3 separate regions of the Homo sapiens genome follow, and regions 2 and 3 are each linked to region 1. The links are contacts of gene promoters, found by promoter capture Hi-C in blood cells and fetal thymus (Javierre and others, 2016). All regions are on one chromosome and are shown on one strand. The core of a region is centred on a gene start or on the middle of the fragment in contact, and the rest is flanking DNA. Distances in the headings are between cores, read along the strand shown. Region 1 holds the start of THSD7A (thrombospondin type 1 domain containing 7A). Region 2 overlaps THSD7A (thrombospondin type 1 domain containing 7A). Region 3 overlaps THSD7A (thrombospondin type 1 domain containing 7A).

Region 1 (2,700 bases), core at 75-2,574:
TAGCTCTAAGCAACAGGAATAATCTTTTCCCATTTTATTCCTATGAACATGTGAAGTTTCAGGTCCCCTAAGGAATTCTCAATGTTTTTTTAATGCAGAGAGAAAGCGAACCCGCAGAAAAGGGGTTGGTAATTCCTCACTCCGTATTGTTTTCCTGCCTGTCACGGCCCCCGCCAGAAACTCCAAGCATTTTGCCAATGGGTAATGATGGGCAGTTAGTAGCTGCTTTTGTTGGGTGGTTGAAAAACAAAGCAAAACAATTCTCAAGGAAGGAAGAGAAAGTTTGAACCCAGACATCCTAAAAGTTGTACACTTTAAAAATCCTCCGACTCGCTAGTTAATAATTGAGTTTTCAGTCTTTCCCTGAAGGCTCACTGGAGCCCCATTTGCCTTTAATTGTTGGAACCGCCCTCACTTGGCTTGTTTCTGAGGTGTCCCACATATCACAAAGCTAAAGTTAACAAATTCAACTCTATATCCACAAATGTCATGACAGTGAGCATATTGCTTTGCCTAAAGAATAAAGACTGAGACTAAACTCTTTGCTTGTTCTTTGCTAGAAATCTGTTTGAGAAACTCCTAGTAGAATGAAAATCCAGGGGTTAAAAATAATGCACTTCATCATGGAAGTGCGCGTTGCCCTCATTACAGAGCTGCGAGAGAAATATTCCAGCTACTCACTGTTGCCTCTTAGTTGTTATGCTTTTCTTTCCTAATTGCATCGGACATGACCTATTTGCTTCCTAAGAAATCATACTTTTTACCTTAGGATACCAGCATAACCAAGCCATCCAAAAGCACCGGGGTCCCTACAGAAGCCCACCAGCTCCTTAATGTGGCCCCAGATGTGAAGATGGGGAAAGGGTAACTCCGTCCCACTTACCAGTCTTCCACAGATAGAGGGTGGGCGCCTCCGCCTCGCCCTGCGCCGCAGCCCTGCCGGCGCCCGGGCGTAGCAGCAGCAGCAGGAGCAGCGGCAGCGGCAGCGGCAGCGGCAGCAGCTGCAGGACGCCCCGGCGCGGCCCCGCAGCGCCCCGGCTCCCGGACGCCCAGCGCCTGGCTTGCAGCCCCATGCCGCCTGCAGCCACTCCAGGGTCCAGAGCCGTAGCACGCTCGGCAGGGAATTTTTCTCCGCTCTTGGAACGTCTTTTCAAAGAGTACAGAAAGCAAAGCTCTTTCCTGCTATTGTTCGCTTCAGATGAGAAGGAGGGAGAGCGCGTCTAACACCAGGGAACAATAGCGTCCGCGGTGGTGGCCGTGGCCGCTGCCGCCGCCGCCGCCGCCTCTGGCGGGGATGCTGCTGCCGCTGCCATTCCTCGCAGAATGGCAGGTCCCGGCGGCTCCGGAGGCAACTGTCCTCAGGGGGCCCCAGCTGACTGAGCAGGTCTGCTAGGTCTGGGAGGCAGCGCAGCCCCCGCCAGCTGGAGGGGGAGGAGGGGGGCGTGAGCCCAAAGGAGCAGAGGGGGCTGGAGGCAGAGGGAGGCGAGAGCGCGAGGGCGAGAAAGGGGGCGAGCAAAGGGGAGAGGGGCCAGCCAGGCGACACCCACCTCCGACATACCCGCCTAAAGAACTCCGGTGCACATGGTGCGATGAAATATGTTTGGAAGGATGCACCAATAAAAAGAATCATCACCCGGCAGATTTCAGAATGACAAATAACAGGCATTGATATTCACTGTCATCCAAGGAGTCAAATGCTAGATCTAGTGGCATGCTATTCTTAGTACGTATTTACACAAAGCATCAGTGTTTATTATCTATTTTTAAGCCATGGCTTCTGAATTACTTTGTGTGGGGAGCAGTATTTGAGATCAGGTGTGAAAACACGAGAGCAGAAATGTTGACTTGTCAAAATGCACTTAAACCCTTCTTTAAATGTTGTTTTTAACTTAATCTATTATCAATAAAAATATGAGCAATATTGATGCTCTGTGACAAATTAAATTGTCTTTTAATAGCCTTTAAAACTGAATTAGTGTTAATGAGTATTTGCAATGCTACCTAATTACATAAATACAATTGTACAAAAAAAAAACCCTTAAAATTAAAATTATATTTCAGGTATAGAGTTCTGTCCCTTCATCTACTTCTTTCCCTCAAAAATATGCTACTTCTAAGTATTCAGATAGTTGTGAGTCAAACTGAGTCAGTAATGCTGTCTGGATATCTTGGAATTAGTAAATTCTTCATTTAAAATTTCCCTGACACCGATTTTTCTTAACTCTTACTGTAGCAAAATGCCTGTCGCAATCTAAATAAGGAACCACATGTGTTTGCATCTTTTGTCCTTTGTGTTTTCACTTTCTTCTACCAGTAGTAATAGAAGAATGTGTGTGAAGTCGGATAATGCTTTCCCCTTTCTCCTTCTCCCTTTAGCTAATAATAATATATTTTATTATTAATTCATTTCACAGTAAAGCTAAAATAGTAGGCATTTAACCATTAAAAATTCAGCAAACGGAAAGCCAAAGAAAACTACTATCCCATCAGCAATTTTCAGCCAAATAAAATAAAATTTTAAAAGCAGGAAAACTACTTTTTATGAATTTACTCCAACATAGCTACCCTAGAGTTTAAGATGAGGAAGCTACTCTTTCTGAAAGAGGAAACCTTCCATAAGGCTCCCTTGGGACCCTTGTCATTTTGCAAAGCCTTCCAGACACAGCCCCTCTGCATGCATTAGATTAAAAGCGGGTTTGA
Region 2 (2,700 bases), core at 162-2,661, 210 kb before region 1:
CTGTAGCTTTTCCCCTTATTCTACTCAGAAAAAAAGTGATAAATAGCAAAAAGAGCAGGGAAAATTACTAAATCGTAACTGTGAGGCTGTTAATCCTCACAAGTTTTTGATTTTATTGTGTACAGAATCATTCATTTAAATGTTTTTATTTTAAAAATGTAATTATCATCTTATTATTCAAGGATAAACAGAAGAAAACTTGTGAATAAAGAGTATAAGCAATATTTAAAAACATATCACAGTGATGCTATATTTGTGCATTGCAAAATAGCTGTAAGTTGTATACACAAATATATCTGAGCATAATAGTCTAGGAACTAAGACTTCCTCAAACCAAAAGTAACATTTTATTTGGTTGGTCCATAGTACTTTGGCCCCTCTTGAATTGTTTTACCGGAACTATTATATAAGCTTATGTTCTCAACATTCATCAGAAACTGACAGGAAAAGTACAATACATGCATAACATACACACATGCATACACATTTTAAAGACAAATCATCTTTCATATTTTCTATTTGCTGCTCAGGTATATCAATCTAACTTTTGTTTTCAATTACTATAGCCCTCTTGCAAAAGTGCTCCTAAAACTTCATATATCTTCCTTCCTCTCATCTTACTAATTGCACGTATATTTGTATGTATGTATGTATGATTCATTCATTCACTCTTTCATTCATTCAGCTTTATTGTTGTAAATTACCTACAAATTCTTATTGGAAGTACAGAAATTTTAACTATATTACATGAATGCTAACGGAGACCTAGGATAGATAAATATATTTCTAATATTTTATTGTTGGCAAATAACACTAATACTTCACACTCTAGCATTCTACTTACACAGGTTATCAACAATCATCTATTCCTTTGTTGTTACGTTAGATTTACCTTTTATTAGATGTTAATATTAGATGTTAATGTCTTTGTAGGGACATGGATGAAGCTGGAAACCATCATTCTGAGCAATCTATCACAAGGACTATAGGCGGGAATTGAACAATGAGAACACTTGGACACAGGAAGGGGAACAACACACACTGGGGCCTGTCGTGGGGTAGGGAGAGGAGGGAGGGATAGCACTAGGATATATACCTAATGTAAATGACAAGTTAATGGGTGCAGCACACCAACATGGCACATGTATACATATGTAACAAACCTGCACGTTTTGCACATGTACCCTAGAACTTAAAGTATAACAATAAAAAAAAGAAAATGTCAAGTGTTACCACCTTTTGTGAAAGCATCTAGAAATATCTTTTAAAAATAAATTTGACCCAGTAATTCCCACACCTAGGAATATGTCCTACAGAAATTAAAATGCCAATTCATATGGACACTTATATGTGGCTATTTATTGTGGGCTTGATCATGGTAATCATAAAACAGAAATAAAATTAATGTCCAACAATAAAGAATTTAAGAAGAATGGATTAGAGCTATTCTGTATAACTTGGAGGGGTTTCTACAGGGTTTTATTTAGTCAAAAATAAGATGCAGATGTATATTGTATACACATGCATATTGTATACACACATATTGTATATACACGTAAGATGTATATTTTATATAATAGAAATCATTTTCTAAAAATGAGCAAGATAAATTGTGTGTATGTGTAAAATCAGTATGTGTAGGTTGATATGAATACACCTTATTAACATAACTTACACTCCATTGGGGAATGAGGATGTGCTTGATGTTTTAATATGATGTAAGAAGGAGAAGAATAGGGCGGGGCGCGGTGGCTCATGACTGCAATCCCAGCATCTTGGGAGGCCGAGGCGGGCGGATCACGAGGTCAGGAGACCAAGACACTGGCTAACACAGGTGAAACCCCGTCTCTACTAAAAATACAAAAAAATTAGCCGGGCGCCTGTAGTCCCAGCTACTTGGGACGCTGAGGCAGCAGAATGGCGTGAACCCGGGAGGCGGAGCTTGCAGTGAGCAGAGATCGCGCCAACACTGCACAGGAGCCTGGGAGACAGAGCGAGACTCTGACTCAAAAAGAAAAAAAAAAAAGAAGGAGAAGAATAAATTTAGTATTAATATACAATCCAATTTATGCACACATATGAATTTAGATATATAATGTAATGCATAATCACCTAAATGTTAATAGGGTTCAGAGTGGTAAGATTTTAGGTGGCTTTTATTTTTTCTTTATATTTTAATGAATCGTTCTCAATCCAAAGATAATAAAGATAGTAATACATAAAATTTAAATAATTAAAAAAGTCTATTTCCATTGTGTATAAAGAGTACGCAATGTTTAAAAACTTTTTTAAACATCATTATATTAGGCAATATTTATATCTAACCTAGAGGACACAAAGATAAAGAATTATCAGCAAATAAGAAATATAAAGAAACTGGTTACATTTGTTACTAAAATACACTGGATTTTCAAAGCTTTCAGATATAAATGTTAATGTGATTTTGTATATCAATGACTACAAGAAATGCCCAGATGTGATTTAACTATGATCTTTGTCTTTATCTAAGCATGAACAACTAGGTTTCCAAGATAAATCTTGATATGATTTATGTATTTTATCTAAACTTTTACATTAAAATAGCCACATGAATAAACAGTAATTTCTTTTCTTACTGTACTTTTTTTTTTTTTTTTTGCTTTAAGAGACTGCATCCTGCTCTGTTCCCCAGGCTGGACTCCTGCGGTGGAATCATAGTTC
Region 3 (2,700 bases), core at 34-2,533, 240 kb before region 1:
CCCCCAAAAAGGGCATGGAGAAAGATACTCAAGGATATATGTTTATTTTGTTAATTGTGTTTGAATATCTGAGAAGAAAAAGAATAAAGCACTTAGCTTGCAACAAAAATAGAGGAAACTCATAGGAGAGAAAATACAGGAAATCCTGGCAACTTCCTTGAGCCTATTATGTGGGGAGGAACCAGAACAATCAGTGGGATAGGCAGAGACATTGGGGAGGAAATTCTCTGTGGAGGTTTCAGTCACTTTTCACATTAGAACACAATGGATGAGTCCAAAGTGCTGCAGAATTATATATCTGGTATAAAACATTACTATTTTTTTTGTTGTTGTTATAGGAATAGTAGTAGTAGTAATTTGCCTCCCCACTGGTTCATAAAGATCTAGCTATATGCATGTTCTTTAAATGTTTGGAATAATCCAGAGATGCTCTCAATGAAGTTCACACATCTCTATTGAAAAACTAATATAAGTTGCTTTATAAATATCCTATATACAGATTAAGCTGAAATATTGCTATTACCAAAATAATTCACAATGATAACTTGGAAATTATATTTTAATACTGTCATACTGCCAAATGTTTCAGAATGAGTCTTATTTAATCTGAATTCAATGAATATTTATTGAACACATATTTTGTACCAGGTATTGTGATATATGCTAGCAATTAAACAAAAAGCAAACAAGCAAAAAACCCAACCCTTTTCCCCATATTAGTAAGCACAATCTTTGTCCTCATGGAACTTAAAGTATCATTATTTTGATGTAGTATTTTACTCTAGTGAATAGGATTTGTTATACAAAGTACTGAATTTTAATAGTTAACGATAATCTATATTTGGAAAGTTTATTTTACCTTGTGGAATGGAGGTTGACAAACTGTGGCCCAAGATCATATCAACCTGCCACCTTTTTTTTTATATAAATAAAATTGTATTGGAACACAGCCACGCTCAGTTGTTTACATATTACCTCTAGCTCCAACAGCAGTGTTGAGTCATTGCAATAGAGACACGTATGGCCTGCAAAGCTTAATGTTTTAACTATCTACCCCTTTACAGAAAAATTTTGGCAACTCCTATTATAGAAAATACATAAACATAGAATTGGTGCTAAAAATTTCATGGAGATTTAGTTTGTCAGGACACTTTTATTCTGTAAAAAAAGTTTTTTTTAAGGATACTGTTTGTAAAGATATTTTTTATGTGTAAAAATTACTGTTGCTTAGAGTACTGTTCAGTCAAAATCAAATAGCTGAGCAAATGTAGTTTCGGCAGACGCTATACCCTTCTTTATTTACTCACGTGGCACAGGGGACAACTCCATCTCCTTGAGACAAACAGGGTTCTTTTTCTTCAAATTCTGGACACTCCTTTTCACTGCCAATGGGAAACTGCCTGATGGTTCGTGTCCTTACACGAGTGCCTGCAGGGGACACCATGTCATGGCATGTTTTTGAGCAGGGGCTCCACTCTGACCACTCGGAAACCTGGCACTCTTTGGTGATCACACAGGACTGGAAGGTCATTGGAAGCTTCTCTTGCTGGCAAAAGCTGTAAAAGAGCATTGATATTCTCATTACAGACTCACAGGCAGTTATGAACTTTGTCTTCTACGCTCAAGAGTGAATCAGCTTGGGCATTTTTATTTCTACTTGGAGGTGTGATTCCAGTTTCATCGAAAATACATCAACATTTATGATGTGGAAAAGCAGTTAGACTCAAAGCTAACATTTGCATATTCTTCTGTTTTCTAAGAGTTGTTAAACCATTCATAGGAAATAGAAAATAAAGAGAATTAAGTAAAATTAGCTAAAGCTAAGTTTACCATACTGTTCATTTTACTCATTCCAGACTTGTTTTAACTTAGAAAATGAGAAACCAAGAACTGTTAACATATGCTAATTTCCATTCTGTTTAGGGAATCAAGTAAATATGCCTGCGTAAGTGTGATGGTTAATACTGAGTGTCAAATTGATTGGATTGAAGCATGCAAAGTATTGGTCCTGGGCATGTCTGTGAGGGTGTTGCCAAAGGAGATTAACATTTGAGTCACTGGCTGGGAAAGGCAGACCCACCCTTAATCTGAGTGGACACCATCTAATCAGCTGCCAATGCGGCTAGAATATAAAGCAATCAGAAAAACATGAAAAGAGTAGACTGGCCTAACCTCTCAACCTACATCTTTCTCCCGTGCTAGATGCTTCCTGCCCTCGAACATCAGACTCCAAGTTCTTCAGTTGTGGAACTCATACTGGCTCTCCTTGCTCCTCAGCTTGCAGATGGCCTATTGTGGGACCTTGTGATCATGTGAGATAATACTTAATAACTACACTTTATACATATATCTATCCTATCAGTTCTGTCCCTCTAGAGAACCCTGACTAAGACAGATTTTGGTACCAGGAGTGGTTCTACAGGAGCAGAATATTAAGGATGGAATTCTTTCATTGGTTTTGGGATTTCTGGAGTTGGCTGCTTAATATTAGACCCCAAAATGCTAAGGACTCTACTTCTAATAGTATGGAGAACACTCATAGTCCTTGGTGTGAACTGTTTAGGGAGTTATGCAAAATAAATGCATTTGACGCTCCTGATTCATTGCTTGTGAAGGCAAGGAGTTTAGAGACTCTATATATAACACCTTTGACCATATATGGAGAACCAAGAAACATAATGAAGCTAGTCCATTGCTCCT

The links. Contacts are between HindIII fragments. The CHiCAGO score rates a contact against its expected background, and 5 or more counts as called.
Region 2: a contact is called between a fragment that was not itself captured here and the fragment with the promoter of THSD7A in region 1, in 1 of 17 cell types (endothelial precursors). The highest score is 6.1, in endothelial precursors.
Region 3: a fragment that was not itself captured here is called in contact with the fragment with the promoter of THSD7A in region 1 in 1 of 17 cell types (endothelial precursors); the score reaches 5.3 in endothelial precursors.

The regions. Positions count from the first base shown.
Region 1 is chr7:11,830,874-11,833,573 of GRCh38, forward strand. THSD7A (thrombospondin type 1 domain containing 7A) reads right to left here and starts at 1,325. Exons shown (of 28, transcript NM_015204.3): 1 at 884-1,325. The coding sequence starts at 1,073. RefSeq lists enhancers at 922-1,462, 1,463-2,002. The HindIII fragment of the contact is 6,451 bases long and covers 1-2,700 here.
Region 2 is chr7:11,616,783-11,619,482 of GRCh38, forward strand. All of the region lies in intron 2 of THSD7A (thrombospondin type 1 domain containing 7A), which reads right to left. Among named protein-coding and RNA genes, the nearest start is that of THSD7A, 210 kb to the right of the region's middle. The HindIII fragment of the contact is 2,005 bases long and covers 410-2,414 here.
Region 3 is chr7:11,591,947-11,594,646 of GRCh38, forward strand. It overlaps THSD7A (thrombospondin type 1 domain containing 7A), which reads right to left. Exons shown (of 28, transcript NM_015204.3): 3 at 1,308-1,556. Among named protein-coding and RNA genes, the nearest start is that of THSD7A, 240 kb to the right of the region's middle. The HindIII fragment of the contact is 504 bases long and covers 1,032-1,535 here.